Regions from separate parts of the Homo sapiens genome. Here all the other regions are linked to region 4. Evidence: promoter capture Hi-C in 16 types of primary human blood cells and fetal thymus (Javierre and others, 2016). All regions are on one chromosome and are shown on one strand. The core of a region is centred on a gene start or on the middle of the fragment in contact, and the rest is flanking DNA. Distances in the headings are between cores, read along the strand shown.

What was found. The method cuts DNA at HindIII sites, captures the fragments that hold promoters and counts their contacts. A CHiCAGO score of 5 or more calls a contact.
Region 1: a contact is called between a fragment that was not itself captured here and the fragment with the promoter of SNRPB2 in region 4, in 1 of 17 cell types (non-activated CD4 T cells). The highest score is 5.4, in non-activated CD4 T cells.
Region 2: a contact is called between a fragment that was not itself captured here and the fragment with the promoter of SNRPB2 in region 4, in 2 of 17 cell types (total CD4 T cells and total B cells). The highest score is 6.2, in total CD4 T cells.
Region 3: a contact is called between a fragment that was not itself captured here and the fragment with the promoter of SNRPB2 in region 4, in 6 of 17 cell types (naive CD8 T cells, activated CD4 T cells, non-activated CD4 T cells and 3 more). The highest score is 12.7, in naive CD8 T cells.
Region 5: a fragment that was not itself captured here is called in contact with the fragment with the promoter of SNRPB2 in region 4 in 7 of 17 cell types (total CD4 T cells, non-activated CD4 T cells, total CD8 T cells and 4 more); the score reaches 15.0 in total CD4 T cells.
Region 6: a fragment that was not itself captured here is called in contact with the fragment with the promoter of SNRPB2 in region 4 in 8 of 17 cell types (naive CD8 T cells, total CD8 T cells, naive CD4 T cells and 5 more); the score reaches 16.1 in naive CD8 T cells.

Annotation. Positions count from the first base shown.
Region 1 is chr20:18,804,139-18,807,265 of GRCh38, reverse strand. No RefSeq gene overlaps it. Among named protein-coding and RNA genes, the nearest start is that of SCP2D1, 8.1 kb to the left of the region's middle. The HindIII fragment of the contact is 3,074 bases long and covers 76-3,127 here.
Region 2 is chr20:13,754,100-13,757,331 of GRCh38, reverse strand. All of the region lies in intron 9 of ESF1 (ESF1 nucleolar pre-rRNA processing protein), which reads left to right. Among named protein-coding and RNA genes, the nearest start is that of ESF1, 29 kb to the left of the region's middle. The HindIII fragment of the contact is 2,329 bases long and covers 382-2,710 here.
Region 3 is chr20:13,812,394-13,815,428 of GRCh38, reverse strand. The region is part of intron 8 of NDUFAF5 (NADH:ubiquinone oxidoreductase complex assembly factor 5); the gene reads right to left. Among named protein-coding and RNA genes, the nearest start is that of NDUFAF5, 29 kb to the right of the region's middle. The HindIII fragment of the contact is 7,931 bases long and covers 1-3,035 here.
Region 4 is chr20:16,728,724-16,731,889 of GRCh38, reverse strand. It overlaps SNRPB2 (small nuclear ribonucleoprotein polypeptide B2), which reads right to left and starts at 1,864. Exons shown (of 7, transcript NM_003092.5): 1 at 1,726-1,864; 2 at 124-222. The coding sequence starts at 187. RefSeq lists a silencer at 1,407-1,456 and enhancers at 1,607-1,726, 1,777-1,826, 1,885-2,753. The HindIII fragment of the contact is 9,448 bases long and covers 1-2,127 here.
Region 5 is chr20:13,771,727-13,774,906 of GRCh38, reverse strand. It overlaps ESF1 (ESF1 nucleolar pre-rRNA processing protein), which reads left to right. Exons shown (of 14, transcript NM_001276380.2): 5 at 2,292-2,392. Among named protein-coding and RNA genes, the nearest start is that of ESF1, 12 kb to the left of the region's middle. The HindIII fragment of the contact is 5,034 bases long and covers 1-3,180 here.
Region 6 is chr20:13,791,062-13,794,173 of GRCh38, reverse strand. It overlaps NDUFAF5 (NADH:ubiquinone oxidoreductase complex assembly factor 5), which reads right to left. Exons shown (of 11, transcript NM_024120.5): 4 at 947-994. Among named protein-coding and RNA genes, the nearest start is that of NDUFAF5, 7.6 kb to the right of the region's middle. The HindIII fragment of the contact is 216 bases long and covers 1,591-1,806 here.

The DNA.
Region 1 (3,127 bases), core at 363-2,862, 2.1 Mb before region 4:
AAATTTAAATTTAAAAATTTTAAAAACAACTCAAATAAATAAGTAAACTGCGTAACTATCTAGTCCTTTCAAGCTTTGGGAAAGGACTTCTGGACTAAGCCTCCACTTGGGAAGCTCTCCAAAATAGTTTTCCAAAGTACCATTTTGTATTCCCACAAGCAAATGCATGAGGATTCTAGTTGCTCTGTGTCAGGGACTGAATATTTGTGTCCTCCCAAAATTCAAATATTTATTAAATCCTAATCTCCAACATCATGATATTAGGAGGCTGGGACTTTAGGAGGCAATTAAATTGGGTAGGCTATGATGGGATTAATGCGCTTATAAGAAAAGAGGAGGCCAGGCACAGTGCTTCACACCTATAACACCAGCATTTTGGGAGGCCAAGGTGGGAGGATCACTTGTGTCCAGGAGTCTGAGACCAGCCTGGGCAACATAGTGGAACTTCATCTCTACAAAAAAAAAGAGAGAGAGAAGAAGAAAGAAGAAGAAGAAGGAGGAGGAGGAGAAGGAAGAAGAACAGAGAAGAGAGAATAACAGGAAGAGAGCCCCCCTGCCCATCCTGAACATGCTCTAAGCCAGAAGATGGCCATCTACCAGCCAGGAAGCGGGCCTTCAGGAGACACTGAATGTGCGGGCACAGTGATCTTGGACTTCCTGGCCTCCAGAATTGTAAGAAATAAATTTCTGTCATCTAAGCCACCTAGTCTATAATATTTTGTTACAGCAGCTCAACCTAAGACACTCTGCACACTTGTCAGCACTTGGTTGGTTGGTTGGTTGTTCCACCATTCATCTTCATCTGTTTTGTGTTGCTATGAAGGAATATCTGAGGCTGGATAATTTATGAAAAAAAAAAAAGAGGTTTATTTGGCTTATGGTTCTGCAGGCTGTACAAGAAGCATCTGCTTCTGGTGAAGGCCTCAGGCCCCTTCCATTCATGGCAGAAGGCAAAGGGGAACCAGTGTGTACAGAGATCACATGGGGGCAGCAAGGCGGGGGAAGGTGCCAGGCTGTTTGTAACAACCAGCTTTCTCAGGAATTAACAGAGCAATAACTCACTCGCCTCATCCCCGAAAAGGGAAGGCATTAATCTCTTTATGAGGTTATCCTCTCTTCATGAAGATCCATCCCCATGACTCAGCCACCTCTCATTAGGCCCCACCTCTAACACTGGATATCAGATTTCAACATGAGATGTGGAGGAAACACACATTCCAACTACAGCATCATTCTATATGTACGCATATATGTCTGCAGCCCACATATCTTTGAGTTCTAAGACAGTGACAGCAGCAACAGGAAACCTGTTCAGAGGCAGTGGTGAAAAATTTTTTTATATTTGATATGGCTTCAGGAAATGGCATGTATTACTGTGGGTGAGGCTCTTATCTAAGTAGAATTTCACCTCTTACTCTGTTGATGCAAAGACTGTGATAGGTCAAATTACAGGTCTTAATCCATCACACCTGTAGTGGGATTATTATGTAGTCGTAAGTGGAGCAAAATTACCCACCCTTGTGAAGGTGGCTGTGTCCGTGGGGTTTGCTTTGGCCAGCGGGATGTTATCGGACATGATGTGAGCAGAGGCTTGAAATGTCCTTGCGCAGTGGGGCTTTCATGCTTGTGCTTCTGCCATGGCCATGACAAGGTCATGCCCTAGGGAGCTGCTGGTCCAGGAAGGATGAGACACGTGTGGAGCTGACCTAAATCAGTCAAGCAGGAAATTACCATGTAGACCCACGAGAATAAATTCTGCTCATTTTAATCCTCTGAGCTTTTAAGTGGTTTGTTACTCAGCATTACTGTGGCCCTAACTGACTGTGGTAAAGTCCAAAAAAAGTAATAGCTGGGCTTGCAAACCAGTCCTTATGGGCAAAGTCTTCAGTACTTAAACAGACAAATCTTACTGAAGTTACAGCCTGCAGTCTTTCCACACAGCAGACAGACAGACACATTCAGTGCTAGGGCTTGGCTGAGATGATGACATAATGTTCCCTACCTGAGTCAGGCTCCACACACTCAGTTGCTTTTGTCTACACACTTGCTACTTAAAATGTTTGTGGACCAGCATCAGTGGCATCCCTGGGAGCTGGTTAGAAATATGGAATCTCAGATCCCACGCAGACCTGCTTAATTGGTGTCCACATTTTAACAAGATGCCCAATGATTCCTCTGCTCATTAAAATGTGTAATATGCTGAACTACAACACGAAGATAGAGAGATTAGATAGAGATAGATGATAGATATAGATATAGTTATAGACGATATAGATATAGATAAATATGATCCCCCACATACCTGTTGCATTCTCGCTGGTTTGAAAATAAAAACTATCTCGTAATTTGTCTCTAGGTTAAAGTTTACAACACACACACACACACACACACACACACACACTTTGGGAAAAACATGATTCAAACTGAGAAGAAACATTTAATTTAAACATTTTCAAGTAAAAATGTTTTATTTTTTTCTTCATTTGCTTTTTTATTAATAGACTTTATTCTTTAGAGCAGTTTTAGGTTTATAGAACATTTGAGAAGCATGGAAAGTTCTGAAACACTTCATCTCCCTGCTCCCCTGCTTAGTTTCCCCTATTTTTAATATCTTGCATCAGTGTGGTACATTTGTTACAACTGATGAGCCCATATTGATACATTATTTTTAATTAAGGTCCACAGTTAATGTGTTAAGGTTCACACTTAGTGAGGTACATTACATGGGCTTTGCCGAATGCATAATGTCATGTATCCACCACTACAGTATCATACAGAGCAGCTTCACTGCCCTAAAAATCCTCGGAACTCTGTCTATTCATCCTTCCCTCCTCCCTAACCTCTGGCAATCACTTATCTTTTCACTGTCTAAAGTTTGGCCCTTTACAGAATATCATATAGCGGAATCGTACAGGATGTGGCCTTTTCAGATTGGCTTCTTTCACTTAGCAATGTGCATTTTAAGTTTTCTCCATGTCTTTTTGTATCTTGATAGCTCATTTCTTTTCATCACTAAATAATATCATATGGCTACAACACAGTTTATCTATTCACCTACTGAAGAACATCTTGGTAACTTCCAGCTTTTGCCAGTTATTTAAAAAGCTGCTATAAACACTTGTGTGCA
Region 2 (3,232 bases), core at 297-2,796, 3.0 Mb after region 4:
TAAGCATTGCTTATATTTCCTCAGATAAACCCCACCTTGGTCATGGTACCTTATCTTTTTATATATTCCCAGCTTAATTTAGTAATATTTTATTAAAAATATTTGTACTTGTGGCAAAGAGGAATATGATCTGTAGTTTTCATTCCTCGTATTGGTTTTTGGTATTAGGGTAATGTTGACCTTATGAAGTGAAAATGTAAAATGAAAGATTATCATCTGTAATTCCACTATCCTAATTCAACCACTGGTTAAGAAGATTACAGTTTAATTTACCATTTCTCTGTTGTTGAATATGCAATCAGATTTCTAATCTTTCACTACAGTGGACTTATAACATTGAAAAAAAAATAGGACAGATCTCAAACCCACAAATAACAAGCTTTTCTTAAATTTCTTCATTTTCATGAGCAGCCAAGTAATTGGCTTGCCTTTTTAGGGCCTTTTAATTTTAAAAACTTTTAAAACAGAGGTGTGTTTTTCATCTCTCCCAGCCTAGAAATGTTTCCAAGCATGTCAGGACTAGTAGAGAACAACCAGGCCACAATGAGAAGCTGATGCCTAGCATTCAGGCTTAACTCACTAGTTAGTTACGTGACTTCCTTGCTCACACAGCAACTCTACATGTGCTGTAGATCAACCTGTGGTTCTCTCACAAGCTGTTAAAACTACCAGTGTCAAAACCTCAAATGTTAAATCCCAGATGCCAAGTATCTGGGATGTTATAAATAACCTATAGCTTTTTCCATATTTTGAATTATTTTCATAGGATAGTTTCCCAGAAATAGAGTTACTAAGAAAGGGCATGAATACTTTTTGTGTCTTGAAGTTATTGCCAAATTGCTTTCTGGAAGTGTTGTACCAGCTTATAATACCTTCAACAATCAGTAAGAGTGTCAGTTTCACGGAATTATCGTCAACATTGGGTATATATTTTTTACTTTTAATTGAATAGGGGAAAATTGATATTTTAATGTATGAGTTTCAAAGGTCTTAAACTGTAATATTTTGAAGGCCCCTAATGAGGTATTGTTATCTGTGAATCCTTATGTACATGCACGCATGCACATGCAAGTGTAAAGGGTTTTTCTGTGTGCTATACATATAAGATCATTGAGCAATCTTTCTGTACCTCAGTTTATTCATATGGAAATTGGAACTAATAATACCACTTTCTTGCTTAGAGATACTTACAAACGTTATAAACTACAAAGTACTTTCATGACGTGTATTTCAGTGAATTTATGTCTTAAGAAATGTGTGTTTTCTGTAACAGTTACCCTGAACCTCAGGACTTTTTTGATGTTATGCTTCAGTAAACCACGGAGGGTCAGTATGAGATTATACCGTATCATTCATTGGTTCTGTGGCTTGACTCTCCAAAATATTAACCTCTTCAGGAAAATAAGTACTCTTAATCACTAACATTTATTGTGGTTTGGTTTGATTTTTCAGAAGAAATTCTAGTTTAGACTATTTAAACGTTCTACCTTTTTACATTGGGTTATACAGTATAGTAACATGAGGAGTTTAATTTCTTAAGGGTAAGTATTAAGGGAACTGATAACAGGTTTGTGGGCATAACAACTGGAATGAGCTACTCTTTCTATCAATATTTTAGTTCCTATGGAAATGTAATAATACAATTTTATTAATTAGGATTATAAATAAGTAAAAATGTTGAATTATAAAATTTTTAAAGAAAGTTATACTTAATTATTTTGATGTATGTGAAGTTGTATTTCCTATCTCAATGCGTTGCTAAAGGTATCCTGCCAACTTACTAAGGAGTAGATAAGGTGATGCATATAATTAGCCAGTTGGGCCTTCATCAAGAAATGTACCTCGTTGAGGAATTTCTAATACACGTATAAATGAAGTGTAATCAGTTTTAACTCTTTATATAACTTCCCCTGTATTAATAGTCCAGTTAATCTACATAATATTTTTTGTAGATAATGCAAGCTGAATATAAACAATATATATGAAATTCCATCCAGAAATAAATAATGGCATGTTTGTTTATAATCTTAAATTTTTGATTATGGTAAAAGTCCTGTTTTTCTTAGCTATCTCTGGCCTAATAGATATTAGTGAAATGGATAGCTGGTCTTTTTTCTACTCAGCACTCTACAGAACCCCAACTTCTCTTCCTTACTCCATCAAATACTTACTGAATACCTACTCTGTGCCGGGAATTATTCTATACACTGTGTGAACAAAACATAAAAATCCCTGAACTCACAGATCTTATACTCCGGTGAAGGAGAAACTAAACAGATGACAGATATATAAGAAACATATTTGACCAGGAACTAAAGAAAGTAGAGGTCAGGGAGTGAGCCTGGCCCAGGAAGACTGTGTGAGCAGAGGAAGTAGCATAGGAGTATCCTTGAAGCTATACTTTGTCTCTTGTGTTTGAGGAATCCAAGGAGAACAGTATGACTACAGTGGAGGACAGAAGTAACTGAGATCAGAGAGGTAGTTTGGGGCCAGACATGAAAGCCTTGTAGGCCATTATAAAGACATGAATTTCTGTGACTGAGATGAGAAACCACTGGAGAGTTTTGAGCTCAGGAGCAGTCAAATCTGACTTTTATATTTAACAGGATCATTCTTGCTGCTATAGATAAGTAGATTAAAGTGGGGGGCAAGGACCAAATTGGGGAGATCAATCAAATGGCTGTTGGAGTAATTTTCAGATAATGAAGCTTGTGGATGGAACATGTTTGCAAGGGAGCATCAAGAATTTTTTTTTTCATACATTAAGTTCAAGATGCCCATTGATACCTAAATAGACATGCCAAGGAATCAGTTGGTTATACAGTTAAGAGTACAGGGCTGGTAGAGATATAAATTAGAGAATCTTCATTGTATAAATCTCTGAAAGTGAATAAGAACAACAAGGTAGTGAATATAGGTAAAAAAGAAAGGTTCAAAAGCTGATCCTTGGAGCACTCTAACATCTAGAGGTAGAGGACATGAGCCTGGACCATTCCGAGCAGCTGGAGAGGCTATCAGAGAAGCAGGAGGAAATTCAGAATTGCGGGGTATTCAGCCTGCCAATAAAGAAGGCATTTCAGTGAGAATATGGGTCAATAAAATACAGGCTGAGAATGACCATTGGATTTAGCAGTGTGAAGCTCACTGGTGATATTGAATGGTTTTTGTGGGATGATGGGGGATGAAAGTAGTATGGTTTGAAGGAAGAATGGGAAGAGAAGAATTAGAGACA
Region 3 (3,035 bases), core at 322-2,821, 2.9 Mb after region 4:
TGCAGATTGACAGACACAAACTAGTAGGTTAATTATCATCAAGAAAAAGGTGGATCATATTCTTAGTGTCATGAAGCAGCTGGATAACCTTGGGCCAATCATCTGTGGTCTTTAAAGTGACCAGACTAGATGCTCCGTAAAGGCTTCTAGTGCTCACATTTTAACCATATCAAGTGACCAGAGGTAAACTGGGTCTCACATTGGAAGAGTCTGTTGGCTCAGGTATGGTGCTTTCATTTCTGCTCAACTTCTCGCTGCTATGGCTTAATTATGCATTAGTTATGGACAACACCAGTAGAAAAGAGATTTAATTTTTTAGACATAAACATGTGATGCACTAGAAATTCTAAAATGCCTTCTAACAATCAGTATTAGGATATACTAATTAAGATTAGTAGGCATAACACTCTCTGAAGGTCTGACCTACATCAGCCATACAGAAATTCAAGAGCACTACTGCAGAGCACAGGGCGTAACTGTGCAGCACTCCAGCCTTCCCTCACAAGCCACTCACACTGCCACACTGAAACTCCCTTCTTGCAGAAGCAGTGTGAGGGTGGTGGAAAGAATCTGGACTTTGGGATCACACTCCCAGTTTTAACTCTTATATAACCTGGGGCAAAGTCATTCAACCTCTATCGAATTCCAGTTTTGCCATCTACAAAAGAGTAACACCTCCTAATGCATCATGGGGGACCTCTACTGAAGACCACCTGGGAAAAACTGAAACTTTGGGACTTCCGACTCGCCCTGGGCTTTGAGATAACAGAAAAATCTGGCTAGTAGGTTAACTGTTTAAGACTCTCACAGTGTTTTTAAGGTGAAGTTCAACTGCTTATCAAAAATAAACCTAATTTATTACAGTTTACTAAAAACAATACTGAGTATTGTTTAAAAAAATAACTGAACTTACCTTAAGACCACTGTGAAAGCCTTGAAAATTTCTCATGCATTCATCAGCTGATATGCAGCTTGTTTTGTAAAATTAGGTCAACATTCTGGACTTTTGTTCTGTGAATTAATAATAGCAGCTTAAATGAGACACACCACAACCATTAAGAAAAAAAATACACCACAAATGTAAAATCCCAGAAACAAATTTGGAAGTAACATGATCTTCTAGTCAGCAGAATGGCACACCTGAAAGTCTCCCACGGTCTCCCTGCCTCCATCATCCCCTGACTATGCTTCTTCCCATCTCATCTGCCTCTGACTTTTTCCAAGGCAGAATGGCTAAGATTTCAGCATACAAATCAGGCTGTTCGACTAGGTTTAAATCCTGGCTCTACCACTCACTAATTACAACATCTGGGACAAGTTACTTAACTTCTGCCTGGGTTTCCTCACACATTAAAAAAAAACAAACAAACAGATTAACCATGTTAGCTCTAGTCTTCCCTTCCTCATAAACTATGCCTCATAAACAATGCTGGAAGGTGAGCTTTCTAACACACACAAATGTATCTCATTTTCTCTCCTCTATGCAAAATTCTTCCAAGACATTACAACGCTAATCTGAAAAAAATCTAGAAGCCTCTGATCCTATTCATTTCCCATCATCTCCCCGTTCTATATACTCAAGGAATACTGGATTATGGTACCATTCCTTAATCAGGAGAGTGAAGGATGTGCATATCCTATTCTACCTCCATGTGGATGCAATGTTAGCTCCCCTAAACCTCAACCCACCTTTCATTCTCCGGGCAAACTCATTTTCGTTTAGGTGCTGCCTCTTTTGCAAAAGCATTCCTGACCCCCTAAGCAGATTTAGGGCCTTTTCCTCCTGTGTTTCTCCTTGTACTTTATTATAAATGATTTCATTTTACAGTTGAATGTAGGAGTCTGTCTCTATCTTTGCGTTCTTCTTCCCTAGTACAACATAAGCTCCCTGAGATCAGGAACTACGTATTTCCACCACTGGCTCCGTGGTTGGCACATGGGTAGATGCTCAATAAACGCTAAGTGAAGGTATATAAAACCAACCTGTTAATGATTATATCTATTTTGTTAAATATCATTTTATAAGTGTAAATAATTTCTCTTAATATTCCTAAGGATAAGATGTATCAAAAACTAAGACATCTGATTTCTGTAACAGACATTACAGTTAAGAAAAAGCAGCATTACGAAAGCATCTGAAAGTATTAGGCCATAGTTTCTGAAAATATACGGTCTATTTAAAACCTTTAGGAGACTCACACCTGTAATCCCAGCACTTTGGGAGGCCAAGGTGGGTGGATCACCTGAGGTCAGGAGTTCAAGACCAGCCTGGCCAACATGGTGAAACCCTGTCTCTACTAAAAATACAAAAATTAGCCAGGTGTGGTGGCACATGCCTGTAATCTCAGCTACTAGGGAGGCTGAAGCAGGAGAATTACTTGAACCCAGGAGGCAGAGGTTGCAGTGAGCCAAGATTGTGCCACTGCACTCTAGCCTAGGCGACAGAGTGAGACTCCATCTGAAAAACAAACAAACAAGAAACCTTTAGGAAAAGAGGGGGTTATCAATTTGGAAGGAGCACAAGGCTACCTTCTGGGAGACTGAAAATGTTCAATATTTTGTTCAGGATGGTGGTTAAAATACAAGCAGCTGTACCTTTAAGATTAATACATTTCGCTGAATATACATGTTAACCTGAATTTAAAGAATCACATACATATCAAATATGCAGTACAGGACTCTGAATTCAAATTGTAACTACAGATTCAGTGTGACCATGGACAAGATACTTAACTTCTCGATGCCTCAATTTGCTCACCGGTAAAATTAGGGTATTAGAAAAACCTCAGAGAATTGCACTAAGCACAGAGTTAAGTGCTGCTCATATGTTGAAATCAGTGGGAAGTAACTTTTTCCAACAGAGAGGTCTAATTTCTAGTATGTTTCTCTTTTCTTTCTTGAAATGAATCATGAACACAGATTCTACAGCAGAACAAAAATAAATGCTGTATTTGAATAACATTTTTATTATTAGAGCCCGAGTGATATATCATCAGCCCACCATCATCTCTCAAGCCTTTGGATAAAGTGGCTCC
Region 4 (3,166 bases), core at 615-3,114:
GGGATAAACCATTATTTCAGGCACTAAGATGATGAGGTAAGAGGTTTTGAGGCAGTACAATTTTTAAGACAGTAGTAAATAAACACATTTTAGTAGTGAACAAGTATTCTAAAAAGCACTTACCTTCCTTTTTAATTTTGTCATTCATATTGTTGATATAAATTGTATGATTTGGTCTGATATCCATGTTTGTGTTAAATTCTTCAGGAGACAGTAAAAAATCTGTTATAAAAAGGAAGGAGTAAATTATACTGGACTGTGGCATAAGGACACAACACAAGAATTATTAACTTTTCATTTCTCTTTCAATCCCAGTTGTCAGAAAATGTCAGTTTGGCTGTAGCCTTTATTGTATCTCCAGCACCTACTAGCCCTCCTTTTCATACAGAAGAAGAACAGTTTCTCACATTCAAAACTTGGAGCACCAATACCTAGCCAGATTTTAGTAACACCATTTAATTCAACACATTTATTTTTACACTTACGTTTCACTTATGACACGTGACATTTTCTTTCCACCTCCTCAATGAAATAATTTTAAAATGTAGATTTGAAGAAAAATGACCAAAGTAGCAAATGTACATCCAGTAAAAATCATAAGGTTAGACATTAATGAAGTTTGCCAACTACTTAATGGGTGCACTTACAAAGTCCTTCCATACCTATTAATTTGTATACAGCATCACCAAGCTGTCTGGACTCCAAGGTTATCTCTAACCGACTTGAAAGAAAGGAGCTCAATGACAGCAGTGTGGCATGACGATTAAACTCAGATTCCAGTATCAGCCAGATGTGAATTCAAATCCTATTTATGCTTCTTACTAGCTGTTTGCCTGAGGGAAGTTCCTTAACCTCTCAGGTCCTCATCAGTAAAATAAGAATGGTAACAGAACCTACCCAATAGAACTCAGAAGACTAAATGAATTCTAGCACAGTTCTGCATCAGCGGTAAACACTTAAGAGTAGCTATTATTAACAGCTATTACCAGGTAAGGAACTTGCCTAAGGTCACACAGCTAATAAGCATCAGGCCTGGAAATTCAGCCCTTGCTTTCTCCTCTACACTTGTCTTCCTCATATACCACACTATTGCATTTTTTACATGGTTTTTACTTGCAAATTGTGAACTTGGATGATTTCCTTGTGTGCCCCACATATTCCTTTATCTCACAGTATTTACAGAGCATCCACTGTATGTGAACTGCATTGGATGATTGACAAGGGAAGAGCCTACAAGCAGGGGCTGCACTTGTGCAGGTAACAGGTAAAACGTAACGCTTCTCAAAGCCTTGCGACCCCCTAAATCGAAATCTGGAGAAGGGGCAGGGGTCGCAAAGGAGACGACGAAAGGGAAGTGACTGAGGCAGAGGTCAAAGTGAAGGTAGGGGGACAAAGGGGAGGCTCTTGCAGGGTTTCATGCGAGGTTTGATCGTGGGCTGCGTTGTTACAGGGACACCCTGAATTACCCGCCACCACCAAAAGGGAGCCGCTGGAAGACACCTGAAAGCGCAGTGAACTGTCCACGCCTCGCACGAGCAGACTGACATTAACTATCCTTTACTTCGTACGCGCAAGCCTCCCGCCTCTCCAGACACAAGCACCTTCGCCCAAGGCCCCCTAACGAAGTCCAAGGGAGCTGCCACGCGATGCCCGGCCCCAGAGTCAGTCTCCTCACCCCCAAGCCTGCCCCTCCGAGATCCAAACCCGGGCCAAACGCGTACCCACCCCAGCTTCGCGCTTCGTCCGCTCCCAGCTGCAACAGGGGAGAAAAGGGCCGAGGAGCCAGGAAAACCGAAACAGCGAGGTAGAAGGCGCACGAACCCACCTAAGGCCTACGCCGACTACTGTAAGAACCAAAAGCAGGAAACGGAGCCAGGCACCGGAAGCAACGTAGCCACGCTCCTCAATCGAGCGCCGACAAGTCTAGAAGCCGAGCACAGAGCCGATCGATGCTTCCGGGTCTCTGGCAGCCAGGGCTGGCAATCTCTCTGCGCGTGCGTCTGCCCTGCGGGCAGGAGAAGAGTCCGGAAATGGAAATGGGGAAAGAGAAGGGGGTTGTGAGGACCATGCTGCGAGGGAATAGTGAAGGGGAGTGAATCATTTCCCCTACCACGACCTTGCGAAGCTTTACCCGGCGCAACAGTGCCTTCCACCTTTACAAATCCTATGTAATTTTACAGGCGCTGCCCCTCATGCTATGGGGCAGTTAGTCCTGGTTTCGCCCTTCTTTGGGCTCTAGCTACCCCGGTTTAAAATCACCTTTAGGATAGCCAGTTCCTCCTGCCTCCGAGTCTCCTCTGATTCATGGGGCTCTGCAGGAACTGTCCTCCAACACTGTGCTGATGAACTTGAATCTCAGAGGCTACTCAGTTTGAGGGCCCAGGGCAGACAGAACTGGTGTCTGCCCAATTCTCATCTCTCACCAGATAAGGCAACCATGCTGACTAGAACCCAGTCATCTGTAAGATCATCTGCCTCAATTCACTCGAAAAAATAATTCCCTACCACCCTTCCCACTCTTTTCTTCCAACAAAAGGTCTAGATTTTTCTAGGGTATTCTAAGGAGTTAGTATTTATGCCAAGCTGAATGGGAGTTCCCAAAGTGCATGCATTCATTCATCCATCCATTCATCAGATGTCTGTAAAGCATCACCTGGAATATGAAATGGTTGTTAAGAGTCAACTGGAACCTAATCTTGTACCCTCTGCTTAACTAATCTCTCTGACCTTCACTTTTTTCATCTGTAAAATAGGGATCCTAATAGTACCTCCTTCTAGTTGTTGTAAGCATTAAATGAGCTAAAATAAATGTAAAGTGATTGGCACATTGTCAGACACAATAAATGCTCAAAAATGTTATTTCTGAATTCTGGCTATAACTTGGTTCTACTGGTGAGGCAGGTAGCTGTCAAATAAGTTGGTTTTATCAGCTGGGAATTTTTATTTTTTAAAAACACCCAAAGTTGCAACAACTTGAAAATAATATAAGCTTTTTAAGGGTGGGGTTTTTGTCTGCTCTGTTCACTCAAGTACCCTTAGTAATGGGAAAAGTGACTGATAATTAATATGCATTGGATAATTCAATGAATGACATGGAAAACTAGGCAACAGTAAAACAAATATGCTTTGAACATGCACCTGAGTGTAGAGAATGTTAAGGGATCAC
Region 5 (3,180 bases), core at 395-2,894, 3.0 Mb after region 4:
AGCATATAAGAAGTGTTTTTAACAATAAATTGCATTCCTTATTGCTAACACTGGCCAATTAAGGAAAAAATCTAATTATACTAGAAACAAAACCACATAAAGTTCTTGGAAATTACCTTAATAAACACAAATGACCTATGTGAAGTAAACTGTAACACTTGATAAATTTGAAAAACTTACATAAATTTTGAGGATACCATATTTCAAGCCAACCTAATAATTAAGAATCCAGGCTTTGCATTATTGCAGACCTGGGTTCAAATCTTGATTCTCGTAAGTGTTATGTGATCCTGGACACTTAATTAATCTCTCAAGTATGTTTACATCTTTCCAATATATCCAAATGGATATAACAATAGTATTGGTGATTGTAAGGATTAAGTATAAAGGAGCTTGAACTAAGTATTTAGTGCAGTGCCTGAAATAGCCCTGCCCTCAATCATTATTAGAGATTGAGTCTCCCTTATCCAAAATGCTTGGGATCAGAAGTGTTTAGAATTTCAGATTTTGAAATAAAATTGCATTATATATACTTACTGGATGAGCATCGCAATTCCAAAATCTGAAATGCGCCAATGAGCGTTTCCTTTGAACCTCACGTTGACAGTCAAAAAGTTTGGAATTTTGGATTTGGGATTTGGGATGCTCAACCTGTATTATTCTGTTTAAATATTTAAAGATGTTATGTCTACTGTTCTAGGGTAATTTTGATCAAAATCCCAGTTCAAGTCAAAGTTAAGAAAAAGGATACCAATAATCATCTAAAAGAATAAACAAATTAAGAGTAGCTAATAAACTATTTTTTTTTTTTTGAGATGGAGTCTCGCTCTGTCGCCCAGGCTGGAGTGCAGTGGCGCAATCTCGGCTCACTGCAAGCTCCGCCTCCCGGGTTCACGCCATTCTCCTGCCTCAGCCTCCTGAGTAGCTGGGACTACAGGCGCCCACCACCACGCCCGGCTAATTTTTTGTATTTTTAGTAGAGACGGGTTTTCACTGTGTTAGCCAGGATGGTCTCGATCTCCTGACCTCATGATCCGCCCGCCTCGGCCTCCCAAAGTGCTGGGATTACAGGTGTGAGCCACCGCGCCTGGCCTAGACTAGCTAATAAACTTTTGAGAAATCATGCTAATATAAAAACTCACCCTGTCGCTTCTCGGCCTTTTGGCTAAGATCAAGTGTAAAAACTCACCCTACAAGTTACAATATCTAAACATTTCATGATGCTATGGGGGTTGACAGGTTTGGGTAAAAATGGGACAAATTGGTAGAACAGAATAGATAGAAAGAGTTCATATGATAACTTAGATCAAAATAGGCTGCTTGAATATTTGGACAAATGAACAGGTCATTGGATAGAGAACTTGGTTCAGATCTTCACCTCCTAATAGCTCCAGCGAAATTCTAGATGAAGCAAAGGAAAAAAAAATTAAAAGTCAAGCCAAAGAAACAATTTAAAAACCCTGTGTTTTAGGCAATAGTGAGAATTTCTAGACTTAGAAAAGAGGAAAAAAAAGAATCAAAAGATGTGACTACATATATATTATAAACTTACATATTAAACCTATTGTGTATATACTATTCAAGTTAGTAAGAAAAACTTGGATCATCTTGTTGATAAATTGCATATTTCAGACAGTTTAAAAAAGCATGTGTTCATTAACAAATGTATATTAAGCCTAGTAGTATCAAAACAATGTCATTAATACAATTATTTCTTGACTCTTAAAGTAGGCAAGATTTTAGAAGATACCACACCTGGTGAGAGTGAATTCTTTTTCTTATATCGAGACTATACCTAATCTGTATAAGGTTGTCGTCAGTTCTGTTCTATTTCTTTAAAAGAAAGCACTGGATAAATGGTATGACAGAGATAAGTTGGTTATTACAAAATTGATCTTCATTATATGTTTATTTTTCTGTATTTCATGTAAACTAATTCAGTCATTTTTCATGTGTGTGTTTTTATTCACATTTCCTTGAGCTTAGCATCTTGTTTTGCTTTTAATTTTTCGTTTGGATCTCGGAACCATCTTGTCCCAGGTGGTATGTGGAGGAGATACTCTTATTTTTGTTTCCAAGCCTCGTATCTTGTTAGTCTCTAGCCAAAGTGATCTATTTTTAAATAAAATTTCTCAAGATGCTCTAGCTTCCTATAGTGGATTTGGAAGTGAGTCACCCTTACTGTTTTCATTGAGTCAAGTTGTGACTTTTAGAGTTCCTGACTTCGACAGGTCTAGATATTTGTGTAAAGGAATGTACAAATTACATTGATCCTATTTTTTTCTGTTTAGATATATCCTTCAGAATTTGGAAAGGAGAGGATGAAGGAAGAGCAAGTTCAAGGACCAGTAGAGCTATTAAGTATTCCTGAAGATGCCCCAGAAAAAGACTGGTATTAAATCACTATAGAACATAAAACTAAACCTCATAAATTCATGTCATTAGTTCAGAATTCTGGTCACCTTAATAGTTAAAACTAAAGTTTATACTTGTGCCATTCGTGGTTAAAACAGGTTGCAAAACAGATTTAAAGTCTGTTAAAAGTGGTACATTATTCCAAGAAGATTTTTGTTCGTGTATATTTCTATTTCTGTATTCATGAAAGTAATTATTGCAGTTTTTGAAAAACATTTCATGATTAAACTGATTTGGAGTTCTTTTGAATTCTTTCAGCCTCGTTGCTCTGAATTAGTACGTTTTGCTTTTTTTTTTGAGACATCATTGAAGCTCTGTTTGCCTTCAAATTATATAATTTTTTCTTATTTGAGAATCAAATAGAAAAGTGAAAGAATGATAAAACTTTTTTTTTTATCATCATGGTGCAATATAGAAAATAATTTAAGATAGTTTTTAAGCCACTAGGTGGAGCTATATTTGCACTTAATAAAAATGAGGGTTAAATAGATTAGTGACAGGAGAGAGCAGATGAAGACCTTCAAAGAAAGAGTTGTATCAGTGCTTTGTGTGGAACCTTAAAAAAAAAAAAAAAAAAAAGAATGTGTTGTAGTTAAGCAAAATCAAACTTATAGACTCTTAAGCAAACATTTTGCAAGATCAGGAATGTCTTTTAGCTAATGGTTTTCTAGCATATTTTATAATAGAATTATCTTTATTGGTTTTACTTGAGAAGGCAGTGTGTAATAGCAAAGTAACTATTCTGTGAGTTAAATTATAGATAAA
Region 6 (3,112 bases), core at 449-2,948, 2.9 Mb after region 4:
CCAGAAACTGTAAAGGAAAAGACTGATATATTTGATGATAAACTAATTAAAAACTTCTATTAATAGAAATCAATAAACAATGTAAACAACTGAGGAAAATATTTACAACATATACAATGAAGGATTAATATCCCTAAAAACCAAGCTCTTACAAATCACCTAGAATAAAAACACAAGATAGCTAAAGAGGACAAGGTGCAGGCATATCACAAAATTATTTACAAAATTCACAAGAAATACCAATAGTCAAAAGATATCAGCAGCTGTCAGACTGACCCAGACGAAAAGGCTGGCCCAGTGTTGCCAAAGCAAAGTAGTAAAAAGTACCTTTGTCATTGTTCAGTCTTTCTAAGGGCAGTCTGAAGATGTATGTCAAAAAATTTTTAAATGAACATCAAAATGAATCCATAAATTCCGCTACCAGGAATTTATACCCACGGAAAAAAATAAATCAAACATACAATGTGGCTTCACATAAGGATTTTCACTGCAGTGTTGGTTATTGAGAAACTAGAAACGTAACTGCCCTTCAATAGAAAGTTTAGCTAAATAAACTATGGAGTATTCATATATTAGAATACCATGTAGCCATTTAAAAAGATGATATATGACACACATAAGTATAAATTCACTGACAAAAAAAATGATGTGCCGTAAATAACATGGAATATTAGCATAGTAATGTTCATACACAGTTGTGTGTTGGGGGGGCGGGGACAGTTATATGTCTGCAAATGTGGAGACCAAGTGCCACCAATGGTTGCCTCTGAATGGTAGGACTAGGGGTGATAGGGGTGATTTTTCCTTTGTTCTTGATATTTCCTGTATGAGTTCCTTTTCATGTGTCAGAAAAGAAAGCTAGTTTGAAGGAAATAAAAATAAAGAAATAAAATATGAGAAAACACATCACGAGATTAGAAACCAACAGTATTAAAAAGCTACCTACCAAAGCATTTTCTGCAATGTCAGCTTGGAAAAACTTTCCAATAGTTTCCTGCAATGGAATAACTGAAGCTGAAACAAACAAATCCAGTCACAAACAATTGCTGACATTTCTAAAGGTAAAAGTGTTAATTACATTTTAATTTTCAGCTTTGTAAAGGTATATTTCTGCATAAAACCAGTATGGTACACAAATACTTTTAATAACACATATCCTTTGCTATATTTAACTATATGTAATAAAATAGAGAACATGAGTATGCGTATTCAACATTCCGAATTTACTACACTGGGTGAGGGCTTCCGTGTTAACTTTTCCATGGCATAACATGCTAAGAGCTATTTCCCCACTCCTGTGTCACAAAGGACCTGCTATGAGTTTCCCGCCTTTTAGTTGTTCATCCAAAGAGTTTACAGAGTAAAGAAAGACTTACAGGTAGAGGCTTAGGGTTCCATTTTCCCTGTTTCGCCTACCCTCTCTCCCTTCCAAAAGGAAAGGAGACTGTGCTATTTCTGCACCAGAAAAACACTTTCTTTCCCCCTCAGCCCTCTTTTCTCCGGGATCCTGCTCTCTCCATCTCCATCTCTATCAATCTTTAGTCTGTGTCTTCTGTGTCTCCTTCCTCCACCTTACAACAGGCACAAGCTTTCCAATTACAAAAAATCTCCTCCCTCTAGGTACCTTCTGGTTGTTTGGTTTATAATCCACAACTCTACTTCTTCCTAGATTCTTTCTCCCCATTCTGGGTATCTCTTTGCTTTCACTGCTCTGCTAACACTATCTGCAGTCTGTGCTCACTGCTCTCAGTCCTGCTTCACCTGACCTCTTTGAAGCACAGCATTGTCAACAGCCTACTAGAAGCTTCTTCAGAAGCTTCTACTCTGGCTGCCCTTCTCTATTAGAGAAGCCAATCCTTTTTTACTTTACCCACACCCACTTCCCTGTCTGAAACTTGGAAAGATTTCATGCTACCAACATGATGTTGCTAAATATGGAGCTGGGAAGAGTGCTCAATAGCTCTCATGAGCCAGCTCCAGCACACTCCTGTGAGGGGTGAAGAATTAGATGGACAGGATTATCTATCCCTGTCTCTCACTTGAAAATTTGAACTAAGAGACTTCGAGATAATAGCAGAGGTCCCTGGAGTTGGAAGAACATTTAGACTTCAGGGTATAGGCAGTGGTGTGCTGGCTCTTGGTTGGGGACTGCTTTGTAGCATTTGCCAACTTCCATGGTATAAATATTCCCACCAGGGCTGATGTCAAGCTATCAATATGATGTCACAGAACAGAGGTTGGGAAGAGATGCTAACAATTGGCTCTCACAGGCTGGCCTAAGCTAGCTTCAGCTACCCTTGGGTGTAGCATATTCATATGGGGCCACACACACTGATGAACACTACTATGGATAGACTACAGGGAGTAAAAAGAATGAAGGCAACCAGACAGCATTCATGTAGTACCAGAGTGCATGCGAACAGGAGGAACATTGTTATGGTGTTTCAAAGTTCCCATCTCTTGTGAGGCCTGGCTCTATTTCTGGATCCCTGAGTTACATAAGAGCCTCTCTGTAACAAATGTCTCTGTGTTTAAACTGGCTTCAGCACATTTTTGCTTTCAACAATCAAAAGATACCTTACTAAGACACTTTCCATCTTACTATTCCTGGCATCTTTATTGGCTCTTCCTCTTTCTCCCAACCCTAAGTACAATTGCAGAAGGTTCTTTTCTATATTCTTGCCTCAGAGAGTTTACCTATTTCTACGGCTTCAATTGTCACTTCTGAAAGGGACTTCCAAATAAGAACTATAGCCTCCTTTGACAGGTTTACTTTGCCTCACTTAATCCCCTTACCAACCTTTTGAGATGGGTATTATTGATCATATTTTATAGAAACTGAGGTCTAGAGCAATTGATTGGCCCAAGGTCTGAGTATACACAGACAGTGGCAGAGCTGAAGTTTGAAGCCCTGACTTCAAGTCAATGCTCTTAACCTCAATATCCCAATTCCAGTTCCACATTTCCAACTACCTGCCAGCTATTTATACTACCATATTCCACTGCCATCTCAAACTCAACATATCTAAAACAGGAATGATCCCGTGCTCCTTGCCACATCACATCCCCTGAATTTTCCAGTCACAAAAGGTGTAACTTAAACTCTAAAGTT